Regions from separate parts of the Homo sapiens genome. Here all the other regions are linked to region 4. Evidence: promoter capture Hi-C in 16 types of primary human blood cells and fetal thymus (Javierre and others, 2016). All regions are on one chromosome and are shown on one strand. Each heading gives the region's core, a stretch centred on a gene start or on the middle of the fragment in contact. The rest is flanking DNA. Distances are from core to core; before and after follow the strand shown.

Region 1 (2,700 bases), core at 198-2,697, 92 kb before region 4:
ACTTTTTCGAATAGCTAAAACCCGAACACTTATCACCTAAAGCCAGCAAGGATATGGAACAATAGGAACTCTCATTCATTACTGGTAATGCAAAATTGTACAACAATTTTGGAAGACAATTGGGCAGTTTCTTACAAAACTAAAAATGCTCTTACCATATGATCAAGCAATTGTGTTCCTTGGTATTTGTCCAAAGGAGCTGAAAACTTGTGTTCAAACTGTATGATTCCAACTATATGATATACTGGAAAAGGCAAAACCATGAAGTCAGTAAAAAAAGATCAGTGGTTGCCAGGGTGGAGGGAGAGTCAAATAGGCAAGCAAAGAGGATATGATGTATGATTTTATGTATGATACTGTAATGGTAAATAAATTTCACAACGCATTTGTCAAAATCCATAGAATGTACGTGAAGAGTGAATCCTATGTAAATGATGAACTTATGTGATAATGATGTGTCAATATAGAGTCATCCATTTAACAAATGTACTCTAGTGGGCAATACTGACAGTGGAGAAGGCTGCGCATGTGTTGAGACAAGGGGTATATGGAAACCCTAATACTTTCCACTCAGTTTTGCAGTGAACCTAAAATGGCTCTGAAAAAATAAAGTGTACTTTTAAAAATACCTTCCATGTATTTAAAAGAAGTGATAGGCAAAATATGCTAATATCAGTTTCACAAAGATAGATGGAAAAAAGCAATTACTTATGCATAGTTTATATAAAATGTGGTTTTATTTAAAATAAATCAAGTATTAGATATATGCATATGTTAATTGTATGTGTATTTTTTTAAAGTCTGGCTACATGTACAATAAACTTAACAGTAATTCTTGGGATTAAGAGAGGAGAAACAATGAAATTTCACTTAAAAAATGTTATACACTTTTATATTGTTTGTCTTATAATAAACATGTATTAATTTAGCAATATTTTAAAAAGTTTCAAAAGGACACTCACATTTTAAATCACCCTTGTGTTCTTAAAATTTTAACCAGATTTTATGAAAATGTGGTCCAAGGAACCCCTATGTCAGAAACACCAGGAGGGTTTATTAAAAATGGGGATGCTTTCTGAATCCCATCCCAGCATTTTTTTTTTTTACGACAGGGTCCCACTCCGTCGCCCAAGCTGGAGTGCAGTGGTGCCATCTCAGCTTACTGCAACCTCCACCCCCACCTCCACCCCCACCTCCACCTCCCAAGCTCAACTGATCCTTCCACTTCAGCCTCCCCAGTAGCTGGGACCACAGGCATTCGCCACCATGCCCAGCTAACATATATATATATATTTTTTTTTTTTTTTTTTTTTTTTTTTTTTTTGAGAGATGGTGTTTCGCCATGTTGCTCAGGCTGGTCTCAAACTCCTGAGCTCAAGCAATCCTCCAGCCTCAGCCTCCCAAAGTGCTGGGATTACAGGAGTGAGCCACCGTGCCCAGCCTCCATCCTGGCTTTAATAAATCAGGCCCTCTAGGAATGAGGTATAGCGCTTTGCATTCTTGGCAACACGATCAGGTGATTCTAACCTCTACCCTTCTGAATAGCAATAAGTCGAAATGAATGAGTACAGTTTTTTAAAAAAAATCAGCAAATGCCAACACCTCTTGGATAAACACCTACCAATTATTCAATCTAAAGTAAAAGGAGCCGTTAGCATACGCCTGGTCCACAGAGCAGGGAGAAAACTAAATAACTAGATTAATGGCTAAGCTATGTCCTGAACCAGGGCGCACTCTAAGAAGCACTGTAACATTATAAGAAAAGAAGAAGGAATATAGATTTCATAGGGATAAAAACTGGCCAAATGTGCAGAACTTTCCATCTCCCTCTCATAATTCCCATTGGGTCAGTTATACACAGAAGCAAAAAAAAAAATCAATATATTATGCCTTATAATATATCCTGACTCAATTATACTCTGTATTTGAATCAGAAATATAGAGGCTGAAGAATAACTTATAAAGTGTTGTCCTCTATCTTCCAACATTTGAACTTTCTGAAAGCATTATAAATGTAAGACATTTCCAAGAATTTCAGCTATGCATCTGATCCCTCTATATAATGCAATCTAGAGCAGAAGATTTGTGTCAGATAGTATCGGCCAAAAAGGCATAGTTACCAGAAGCAAGAGAAGGCTTTTCAGTAAGTGACTTCGTTACAAAACCCTAAAGTTAGTGGAATTAAAACAGACTCACAAAGTTACCAAGGTTTGATGTACTCACCTACAAGCAACTCTTGGGCGATAAATCCTGAAATTACAAAATTACATAAGCAGTTTATTGTATTTATGAGCAATGTTTTTTAATCCAGCAGATAACTCCCAGAGTTCTCTTTCTCTCCTTCCCTCAGCTTTATCCATAAGTGATCCATCTTTCAGAAGCAATGAGTTATCCTGGATGTCTTTTGCTTCCTTTCATGTTCGAAAAAAGACACATATTCAATTGCAGTTTCAGCCTCTCGCTGCAGATGGTATCCTATTTTATGCTGCACAACACTTAAAAGCCCAATCAGGTAAGATTGGCAGGCTGTTTGTTTGCAGAATGAATTCCTAATAGTCTATTAAGTAATGTATGATAGTGTTTGTGTCACCTAGTATTTAAATATGTAAACATTTGATGCTTTTATGTTCTATTGTCACTGCAAGTGTATGCGTATGAATTTAGAAGCCCTAGATATTCTAATAAAATAGCAACAGATTT
Region 2 (2,700 bases), core at 52-2,551, 110 kb before region 4:
GGAATTGTTCAACTTAAAGTGATTAAATAGATGTGCTGAAATAATCAAAATTAGTGCATCCAAGGTAAGAGTGGTGAAATTCACAAAGCATATTGCAGAGCTTTAGATTTGGAGGAAAAAGTTACACTTTAAAAGTAGAAGTGCAGGTCAGCATAGATAGACTAGGAAGCTACAGGCTCTCCTTCCCCAACAAAGACACCAAATTAACAATAATATGTGGACCACAATTCCTCTGTGATAATGCTGGAGACCAATTGAGAATCTATAGCACTAAGGCTATTGTAAGACAAAGACGGAATTCCAGTGAAAGGTGTAGGAAAATCTGCGGCATTTGTCACACACATTTGTTCCCCTTCCTCTATGCAGCATCACACAGAGCAACTGGAAGGAATCCTCTATATGAGTTCTCCTCCCTTGGGACAGAAATAAACAGTAGAACATGAGTCCAATGTTCTGGCTTGTCTGAGGGCTGCCCAAAGGACTCATTTCTGTACCACCTGACTCAGAGTGCTGACAGTATTGACACCAGAATTCAGAAGCCACTGGAAACAAAGGTGGAGTGGAATATTAGAAATGCAGTTCAGCAGGCAGATTCCAAGGAGAGTAAGAGATTAGAAGGGTTTGAGAGGTCTTCCAGCTGGGCTGATTAAAGAAGGTCTTCTCCTGTACAAAGTCAGAATATAAAAACTGGGATAGAGGGTATTTTTCAAATGCTCAAACCCAAGCAAAAAATTACAAGGCATACAAAGAAACAGCAGAACATGACTAAATCAAAGGGACAAAATAAAACTCCAGAAATCAACCCTAACGAATGCAGATATATGAGCTGCTTAACAAGGATTTTAAATAACTGTCACAAGGATCTCAATATGTTAAAAAGATAACATAGGCAACTAAAGAAATCAGGAAAATTATGCATGAACAAAATAAGACTGTCAACAAAGATAAATAAACTATATTAAAAAACAGAAACCTATAGCAGAAAAATACAAAAACTGAACTGAACAATTCATTATAGGGGTTTAACAGCAGACTTGATCTGACAGGAGAAGGAATTGGCAAACTTGAAATCAGGTCATTTAAAATTATTGAGAGATTTGGGCAAGATGGCCAACCAGACACAGCCAGGTGGAACAGCTGTCACCAAGGGACTAGGACAAGTGGCACACAGTCCTAGCAGATCTTCAGAGGGAAGGCACTGAGAGCAGACTGAGGGAAGACACAGAAGCCAGGCTGAAGAGGGAGGAAGTTGGGACCCCTGGAGGGGGCTACTATGCACCAGTACTTGTTCCTGACCCCCAGTGACTCTGGGGGAATGGGTGAGTTGAACTGGCAAGGAACAACCCACTCTCACCACAGGCCTCTGGAATCCTGGCAGCAGGAGACCCCTTGACCACCACAGACACTTGAGTTGGCAGGAAAACCTGCTTGGAGAAGTGATGGGGAAGGATATCAGCCGATACAGAGCCCAGAGGGTTTGGAATGGGAGCATCTGTAGACAGATCATCAAGGCAGAAAATTAACAAAGATATTCAGGACCTAAACTCAGTACTGGATCAAACATACGTGACAGACATCTACAGAACTCTCCACCCAAAAACAACAAAATATACATTCTTCTCATTGTCACATGGCACACACTCTAAAATTGACCACATAATCAGACATAAGATACTCCTCAGCAAATGCAAAAGAACTGAAATCATAACAACCACTCTGTCAGATCACAGTGCAATGAAGTAAGAAATCAAGACTAAGGAAATAGCTCAAAATCATACAATTACATGGAAATTGAATATCCTGTTCCTGAATGACTCTGGGGTAAACAATGAAATTAACATAGAAATCAAGAAGTTCTTTGAAACTAATGAGAACAAAGATACAACACACCAGGATCTCTGGGACACAGCTAAGACAGTGTCAAGAGGATAATTTACAGCACTGAACACCCATATCAAAAAGTTAGAAAGATAGCAATTTAACAACCTAACATCACAACTAAAAGAACTAGAGAACCAAGAGCAAATCAAGCCCAAAGCTAGCAGAAGAAAGAAATAACCAAAATCAGAGCTGAACTGAAGGAGATTGAGACACAAAAAATCATTCAAAAGATCAACAAATCCAGGAGTTGTGTTTTTGAAAAAATAAAATAAAATAGACCACTAGCTAGACCAATAAAGAAGAAAAGAGAGAAGATCCAAATAAACACAATTAGAAATAACAAGGGGGATATTACCACTAACTCCACAGAAATACAAATAATCATCAGAGAATATTGTAAACACTTCTATGCACACAAATTTGAAAATCTAGGAAAAATAGATAAATTCCTGGATACATACACCCACCCAAGACTGAACCAGAAAGAACCTGAATCCCTGAAAAGACCAATAATGAGCTCCAAAATTAAATCAATAATAACTAGCCTACCAACCAAAAAAAGCCCAGGACCAGACAGATTCACAGCTGAATTCTACCAGATGTACAAAGAAGAGCTGATACCGTTCCTACTAAAACTATTCCAAAAAATTGATGAGGAGGGACTCCTCCTTAACTCATTCTATGAGACCAGCATTATCCTGGTACCAAAATCTGGCAGAGATACAACAAAAAAGAAAACTTTAAGCCAATATCCTTGATAAACATTGATGCAAAAATCCTCAAAAAAGCACTGGCAAACCAAGTCCAGCAGCACATCAA
Region 3 (2,700 bases), core at 167-2,666, 71 kb before region 4:
GAGACAGGAGAATGGTTGAACCCGGGAGGCAGACATTGCAGCAAGCCAAGATCACGCCACTGCACTCCAGCCAGGGCGACAGGGCAGACTCTGTCTCAAAACAAAAACAAAAACAAAAACAAAAACAAAAACAAACCCACAACTGCTAACCAAATAAACTGATCAATATTACATAAACAGTATTACATTGAATTAAACTAATTGCAGCCTAATCCAAAGAAAAGTGAAGTTTATGTTAGCCTTAAAAAAAAAAAAAAGACAGGCAAATGATTTAGGCTTTTTCAAATAATAAAAGGAATTTTTTTACAATCTTTTAATTCTTTAAAATCAGCAGATAGAGAATAAATGAAAAAGGTCAGATACGAACAAGATAGCAAAATATGATCTCAACATAAATACAGTATATATGTACTGATTTATTTTCCTTCTATACACATATAAAAATACATTTCCTTCAAAATAATTCAAAAATGTCACTGTCTCATTTATCACAATATTATAATGTTACTGCTGCTTATTTTCCATAAATACCACATAATAGTTTCTTTCTATTTCCCTCAGGTGTAGAACCAACCAAGGGTATCACTTGCAGCAACTACAGTCACTAGTCTCACTGGTTTTCAACTAGCTGTAAAGCTTCAACTCCCAGTCTACATAAACCACATTCACAGAAATAGGCAGGTAAGAACAGTAGTCATGAAGATGGGGAAACATAAGCAGTGGGGAAATCAGAAGATCTGTTTAACAAAAAATTCTTAATGTGTTAACATTAAAGACCAAAAGTATGTAAATCTTTTATTTAAGTGTGTATTCAAAGAAAAACTTGGATATCCATGTAGACTCTCATTGATTTTGAATTATCTGACACAGTGAGGCAGTACATCTTGGGAAAAGTGCAGGACATAGGAGTTTAAAACTTTCAGAGAATAGTTTATTTTACAATTCTAAAGATCCATTTGTTAATTCATAATTATATTACTTGGACTGTTTAAAAATCATTGTTAATAAATATTTCTATTACTAACTCTGTCTTATTTCCCTGTCAATTACTTTCAGAAACACACATTATCAATTCATGCACAGAAAAGCAGAAAAGTTCACAGTACCTCTGTCAGGTATTCTGGGGAGCCAGATACTGGATAGGCTTTGGTAACAAATTTTGCCACAGAAGGCATGTTGATAAAACCTTTCCAGATGAAGTTCAATCGAGCCAGAAAGGTAGACTCAACTTCAACAGTTCCAGGCATCTCTGGACTAGAAAATGACATTAAAAAGCCTAAAGACAAGCTGATGAATAAATCAATGTCCTACCTAGTCATCAGTTACTCGTATTTTAGCATGTGAAGAAGGCCAAAATATGAGGCTATTGACAAAGAGTTCACACTTTCATTTTATAAAATTACATTCATATTTACATAGTAATGTTTTACAAAATCTTCCCTCTTGGCTGGCTTAGGAGAACTAAGATTGAGAAAAGTGCAAACATTTCGTCTTTAATAATCTATCCCTGACTTTTGGGACCAGCATAATTAAAGAGAATTTTAAAGCTGTTTCCCCACACGCTCCAATCTCTCACTGAAAACACTCCAAATATATTTATTTTCGAAGTCTTGTTTTATCTCAAAGTACAGGAAAGTACAGTTATTTTCTCAAATGAGAGGTTCCCAAAATGTCACTTTTCTGTTTTTGAAGACTTGCAAGTATAATCTGGCAAAGATCTATAATGAGTATTACAGAATTTACAACAGAGAAAATTACCGTGGAGCAGGAGAGAACGTTGACTTTGGAGACTCCTGTTTCTCCTCCTCAAAGAATTCAGAAGCCAAAATATTTGAGGTTGAAGATAATGCATCTGCTATACTTTCTGCTTCATTGTCTGAATGTTTGCGAGCTACTCCTACAACAACTTTTACTTTTTTTGGAGAAAGATCATCTACAGGTGGTGCCATTCGACCTAAGCCCAGAATACATCAAAAGAAACCAACTGTTAACTACAACTTTTATAACTTAACCCATTTTCACTTTCTAAAGTTATTCAGGTTCTATGATTCAATTGCTGAGTAACCATACATTTCCTGGGGTTATATCTAACTGTCATCATTTAGTTGTATCACAACCACATTTAAGAATCAGCAGAAAATTCACTAGTGTTCTCCCCACTGCCAGCCCTCTTCTATATACAGGGACCTAAGCTTATCTGAAATGCAATTCAAAGCAAATCATGCATGGTTCTACCTGTAATAAAGTTAATTTCCCCTTAAAATCTCTTTATAATTATTTCCTACATGTAAAACATATCATGAGTAAATATGGACAAGATTAGCAGTCCCCAACCTTTTTATCACCAGCAACCAATTTCATGGAAGACAATTTTCCCATGGACGGTGGGATGAGGGGAGAGATGGTTTCAGGATGAAACCATTACACCTCAGATCATCAAGCATTAATAGTTAGATTCTCATAAGGAGCACGCAACCTAGATCCTTCACATGTGCAGTTCACAATAGGGTTTGCACCCCTATGAGAACCTAACGCCACTGCATCTGACAGGAGGCGGAGCTCAGGCAGTATCGTCCACCGCTCACCTCCTGCTGTGAGGCCCAGTTCCTAATAGGCCATGGACCGTACAGGTTTGTGGCCCGGGGGTTGAGGACCCCTAAGGTAGTAATTCCTCTCTTAGTGAAGTGAAAAATTAGAAGA
Region 4 (2,700 bases), core at 62-2,561:
CAGATTAGGACTAGAATATTAAAGCAGTGTTGCCACTTAACATTAATCCATGAACATATTCTACGCGTGACTACTGGAAAGCACTAATAACCACCCCAATCTAGTCTCTAGGAATTGGCATTTAAAAGCCCAAAGATGGAAAAAGGTCACCTAACCCGGCAACACATCCTGAGGGAAAGGAGGGACACAGGACTCCGTGCGCGATATCAACATTCTCTTCCTTTCTACTCTCCGCACCGCCCCCGCCCCCCGTGTCAGGTGATCAGTTATTTAGCACCATTAACACGTACGTATCGACAAGTGGTTCATTAAATTACATGTATTATCGGAAGGCAAGAGTCTAGGCTTCTCATTTCAAACTAAGCAAAAGGAGTCCACAGTTTGAGTCCCGGGCACAAAAGCGCGCGGTAACTGGAGGATAAATGGAAGAGCAACTCTCATCTCCAAAAAGCAGCAGCAGGGAGCAGCCTAGCAGCCAGGGCCAGTCCCAGTTTCCCGAAACCAAGGCCCAAAGCTCCATGCTGGGGCTCCCTGAGAAGGAAGAGGCCCCAACGGCCGGATCCGGGGGCCTGCGAGACGGGCCTTCCAGGCAGCGCCCGCCGTGCCTCGGGCCTGCGCGCCCGCGCCTCAGCGGCGGCGGGGCGCCCTCGCAGCAGACGGCTGGGTACCAGTGGTCGGGAGAGAGGCCGTGGTCCCGACCCTCCGCCTGGCGACCGCGTCGCTGCGACTCCCTCCCCAGCCCGCGGTCCAAATGGTCCACAGGCGCCAGCGGCGCGGCCCAGGTAGGCCGAGGACGTTGCGCAAGAGGCCCGAGAGGCGATCTCTCGGCTGCGCGGGAGAAAAGCGCGGAGAGTCCGCCGCGGGAGGGGCGGAGAGGCCCGCGGAGGCGCTGTGCGTGTGGAAGGGGATGGGGGAGGGGAGGATTGCCCGTCTCCCTGGCCGCGGCCACAGCCGCAACTCACCCAGCTCCGCCAGACGAGCGCTACCACTGGCAGCAAGAGGAAGATGGTGGACGCTGCCGCCGCCGAAGAGGAGGAGGAGGGGGCCCGGTGGGTGCCGCGGAGAGGGGGTACGCGCAGGACGTCGGCGTCGCTGCCACAGCCTCTTTTCCTCCTGGGACCAAATGGCTGCTGCTGACGACACTATTCTTGGCTTCCGCGCCGCCCTCCTAATCCTCGTTGCAGCCGCCGCCGCCCTGAGCCCGAAGGTCGCTTGCCGCGTGGGGACGGTGCGACGGCGCGAGACCCCGCAGCCATCGGCGTGCGGCGGCGGCGCGGGAGCTGGAGAGGGGCCGTGTCACGTGACCCCACTGTTTACCGTTCCGGGGGCCGCGGCCTGCGTCGCTGCCGCGCCTGCGCGCTTTAGGGCCTCGAGCGCCGCGCCTCCGTGGGGCCCCGGGCTGCAGCGCTTCCCGGCGTTGCCGCGCCCCTCCCTGTCTTCGGAGGACGCGGCACCGCCTGCGGGCTTCTAGCTCACACCTCCGCGCCGCCGGGAGGGGCGAATCAGAGGAGCGCTTTTTCTCGACCGTAGTAAGCACTAAGGCTTCACAGTTAATATAATATTGATGCGCAGCTCCCCAACCCCAGGTACTTTTTATTAATTGACTGTGAGTTCAAGAATGGTAGAATAGGATGGAGTAGATGAGCCCTCTGCCCAAATATCTGTGCTGGCTCGGCACAGCAGCCTTACCATTAACTACCTCCGTTACCCTCACCCTACATGGCTGATCTACCTCAGGACTCAAATTGCTACCTCCAAGAAACATTCTTGGTATCCAGTAAGCAGTCTTCAGAATGTGGTCCCAGGTTTCCCTGAGGGGTCGCCAAGACCTTTCAGTAGAGCCTCCATTCCTTTGCCAGGAGCATGTGTCTAAGGCCAAATTTTCTTCCCACCCTTCAACCAAAACAGCATATAGCAGCTGATTCAATGCAGAAACAGATAAGAGAATCCAGCCATCTTCTATTAAGCCAGACATTGAGGAAATCTGCAGAAATTTTAGATATCACCCTTTTATTAATTTGGAAAATATGCTTTTCATAAATACATTATTTGTGGTAACAAATATTGTGTAGAGGTCCAGAGACAAAAAAAGTTTGAGACCCACTGGTCTGCTTCCACAGACACTTGAGCTAACCCCTATCTCAGCCCTTAATAAGCGCTGTGAAGTAATTGTTGCTTGTCAGTCACTCCAACCAAAAGGAGCTACTTAGGGACAGGGTTTGTGGCTTTTATCTACAGGGACTATTACAGTATTCAGCCAGTACCTGCTGAGCACCTTACTGTGTGGTCTGCACTGTTCTAAAACCTTTACAGTACTTGTTGATTTAAGCTTTAGACCAACCGCAGCCCACATTGTAAGATTAGTGCAGGGTGGAAGAATAAGTCACAGGCATGTGGTGAAGATCTGTTCTTTCCTCTCTCTAGTCTTCTGATATTTTAAGCACTCTTAATAGCAAATGCTCTTCTACAAAGGAAGTTTGGGTTGTCCTGATTCCACTGGATTCTTAAGAGTTTCACCCCCTGTCTTGACTAATCAATCCCTCAAGACTTTGTTTTACAATCTTTTTGTAATGTGTTTTTGAGAAAGGAAAATAGAAATGAGTAATTTTTTTTTTTAATTCTCACTTGGGATGTCTGGGATGAATTATAAAAACAAGCCTAATGTTATTCTTACTCTTCTGGTGGATCTCAGTGTGACGT
Region 5 (2,700 bases), core at 99-2,598, 100 kb after region 4:
GTGTTTTTGGAAAATTTGTAACAATAAAATATTTTAACTCTCATAGTTATAATATGATTGATTTTTGTTTCACTCTCCAACTTCCTCCCCTCCATCATACTTGCTCTTCGGTTGAAAGCTGTACAGTGGCATAGGACATTTTTGAGATTTAATAAGGGGATAGTGAATGGGGAGATTTTTTTTTTGTGGATTTAATGGCATTTATTTACCTGGTTTGCACCTACCTCCATGTACAGCTAGCTGCCTTGGTATAGAAAAGGCTTCCAGAAATAGTCCTACCATCCACTGTGCTGTGCTGACCCATACATAGGATGTATGCAGCCATGAGCAGGTCCTGTGGCTGGTACTGGTAGTATGTGAGCATAGAGGAGATTCAAGATTTGAGAGGTATGAATCCAGAAGCTAAACTGTGGAAAATCTTATAGGAAAAGATCAAAAAACAACTTAATAGAGATTTACCAAAATTTGACAATATTCCTGAAAATTTGTATGACTTCACTCATAATAAATTGTGACACTAGAAGAAAGTTTTCAAAATTTCAGTAACAATTTCAATTATATATGTGAGAGGAAAGATTGAATTGTTATTTCTAATTTTTTCTTTATTAACTATTATAAAGTTGTCATAAGAAGAGGCAATCAAAGAGTATGTGGTTGACCGGGCGTGGTGGCTCACGCCTGTAATCCCAGCACTCTGGGAGGCCGAGGTGGGTGTATCACAAGGTCAAGAGTTCAAGACCAGCCTCACCAAGATGGTGAAACCCCGTCTCTACTAAAAATACAAAAATTAACCAGCCATGGTGGTGGATGCCTGTAATTCCAGCTACTCGGGAGGCTGAGGCAGAGAATTGCTTGAACCCGGGAGGCAAGGTTGCAGTGAGCCTGGGTGATAGAGCAAGACTCTGTCTCAAAAAAAAAAAAAAGTGTATGTGGCCATAAACATGCAGATAAAAGTGTTATGGGAGGCTGGACATGGTGGTTCATGCCTGTAATCACAGCACTTTGGGAGGCCAAGACAGGTGGGTCACTTGAGTCCAGTAGTTAAGACCAGCCTGGGCAACATGGTAAAACCCCATCCCTACAAAAAAGTATGAAATATTGATCAAGCATGGTGGCTCGTGCCTATAGTCCCAGCTACTCAGGAGGATGAGAGAGGAAGATTGCCTGAGTCCAGGAGGTTGAGGCTGCAGTGAGCTAAGATGGCAGGCACCACTGCATTTACAAAAAAAAAAAAAAAAAAAAGCATAATAGATATGGGTCAGGAACTTAATACAAATATTACATTATCTCTTCTGGATTTTGTGATGTCTATGTAGGCATTTTGCATTAAAAATTATAATTTGTTATGTTTTTTCTTTCCAAATAAATGTTCATTTTTGGAATAAATTTTTTATTGTTTTAGTTAAAGAGAACCCCCAGACTGAAAATGTTACAGGCCTCACAAATCGGTATTTGCCCTTCATTCCATCTATTCCCCACTAATTAAACCAAATCCTCTTCTTAGTCTGTGATTAGTTTAGAGGTGGACAGTCTCTGCCCATTGGCTGTGAACCAGGAAGCAGGTAGCCCTCATTGCTTGCAGTTATCTTGATGGACACCAACTCAAGAGGCAGGCAGAACTGAGAGGACTTTGGAGACTGAGGGAACTGTGCTTGAAACCTGATCTATCTTTGGACACACAATATAGAAGTTCTCTAGTATTTATAATATCAGAATTTTCACAAGCAAAGCTCATTCTTATATTTAGTTGAATAGTTGAAATTATAAAGCTAGGTTAAAATGCAAACAAATGTAGAAAAATAGTGCTCATTTTTCTAAAGGATTTTCCATTGGTATGGAAACCATTCTAATCATTACATCTCTGATAGTTTATAGCATTGAAGCTATAAGAAAGTATCAATTTGGATGTTTTAAGGTACTACTTTATTAAATGTTAATTTATTTTAAAACTGCTGATTTATTCAATGTTAAAATACAGAAGACTAGGAATAAGAAAAAATGAATTCAGGTATGCCTCTAGAAATTTCATTTTGATGTACTTCCTTCTGATCATTTTTCTATGTATATGTTTTATTTGAAAAAATCTTTATGATAGTTTAATACAATTTTATCTTCTCCTTTTTTTCTATTATTCCCTATGACCCTAGTGATTTAGCACAGAAGGGCCTCCATGTTCACAAATTCAGGGGGCTTTTTTCACATTGTAGCCTATGTGAACGGCGTCCACTGGAGTTGTGCAGTAAATAGCCTGTGTGACTGTATGAGGCAGCCATTTACATCTGGGCGTCTAAGCCTTCATGTTTACCTAGAGCATCTTATGGTACCATCCCAACTACAGATTTGGGAATAAAAGGCAGGGCAAACCACTCCTGGCTGCCTTCCAGTACCATCATATAAATTTAATATTCAGCCTTTGTGCTTTTTCTCAGGCTGGCTTTGTCTGTAGCTGTGTCTCACAGCTGTCCTCTTACAAGGTTACATCTATGCCTTTTCTTCACCTTGGAATAATCTGCTGACTCCAGTGTATGAAAAAAAAGTGTTAAGTAAATTAACTTCATGGCTGTTTTAATGATCACATTTCATTGTTATATCATTTTGGATGGTTCCAATTTGACTTCCTTCTGTCAGTTTCTTTGGATTGATTTTCTATCGGCTCATTTTCAGAAATCTATACTGTTATTATCCTTGCCCTATCTCGAG

The links. The method cuts DNA at HindIII sites, captures the fragments that hold promoters and counts their contacts. A CHiCAGO score of 5 or more calls a contact.
Region 1: a contact is called between a fragment that was not itself captured here and the fragment with the promoter of PHF3 in region 4, in 10 of 17 cell types (non-activated CD4 T cells, total CD4 T cells, naive CD8 T cells and 7 more). The highest score is 28.9, in non-activated CD4 T cells.
Region 2: a contact is called between a fragment that was not itself captured here and the fragment with the promoter of PHF3 in region 4, in 7 of 17 cell types (naive CD8 T cells, non-activated CD4 T cells, naive CD4 T cells and 4 more). The highest score is 11.7, in naive CD8 T cells.
Region 3: a contact is called between a fragment that was not itself captured here and the fragment with the promoter of PHF3 in region 4, in 16 of 17 cell types (non-activated CD4 T cells, naive CD8 T cells, total CD8 T cells and 13 more). The highest score is 39.5, in non-activated CD4 T cells.
Region 5: a fragment that was not itself captured here is called in contact with the fragment with the promoter of PHF3 in region 4 in 3 of 17 cell types (total CD4 T cells, naive CD8 T cells and activated CD4 T cells); the score reaches 6.8 in total CD4 T cells.

Annotation. Positions count from the first base shown.
Region 1 is chr6:63,726,331-63,729,030 of GRCh38, reverse strand. EYS (eyes shut homolog) reads left to right here. Exons shown (of 43, transcript NM_001142800.2): 42 at 2,351-2,512. Among named protein-coding and RNA genes, the nearest start is that of SCAT8, 79 kb to the left of the region's middle. The HindIII fragment of the contact is 8,279 bases long and covers 1-2,700 here.
Region 2 is chr6:63,748,363-63,751,062 of GRCh38, reverse strand. The region is part of intron 41 of EYS (eyes shut homolog); the gene reads left to right. Among named protein-coding and RNA genes, the nearest start is that of SCAT8, 57 kb to the left of the region's middle. The HindIII fragment of the contact is 2,810 bases long and covers 1-2,700 here.
Region 3 is chr6:63,705,283-63,707,982 of GRCh38, reverse strand. PHF3 (PHD finger protein 3) reads right to left here. Exons shown (of 16, transcript NM_001370348.2): 12 at 1,759-1,954; 13 at 1,107-1,254. Among named protein-coding and RNA genes, the nearest start is that of PHF3, 71 kb to the right of the region's middle. The HindIII fragment of the contact is 1,556 bases long and covers 639-2,194 here.
Region 4 is chr6:63,634,413-63,637,112 of GRCh38, reverse strand. PHF3 (PHD finger protein 3) reads right to left here and starts at 1,311. Exons shown (of 16, transcript NM_001370348.2): 1 at 963-1,311. RefSeq lists silencers at 537-716, 1,157-1,516 and enhancers at 734-1,554, 2,086-2,623. The HindIII fragment of the contact is 3,030 bases long and covers 1-2,331 here.
Region 5 is chr6:63,530,055-63,532,754 of GRCh38, reverse strand. It overlaps a transcript of LGSN not described here and a transcript of PTP4A1 not described here. Among named protein-coding and RNA genes, the nearest start is that of PTP4A1, 41 kb to the left of the region's middle. The HindIII fragment of the contact is 3,557 bases long and covers 1-2,700 here.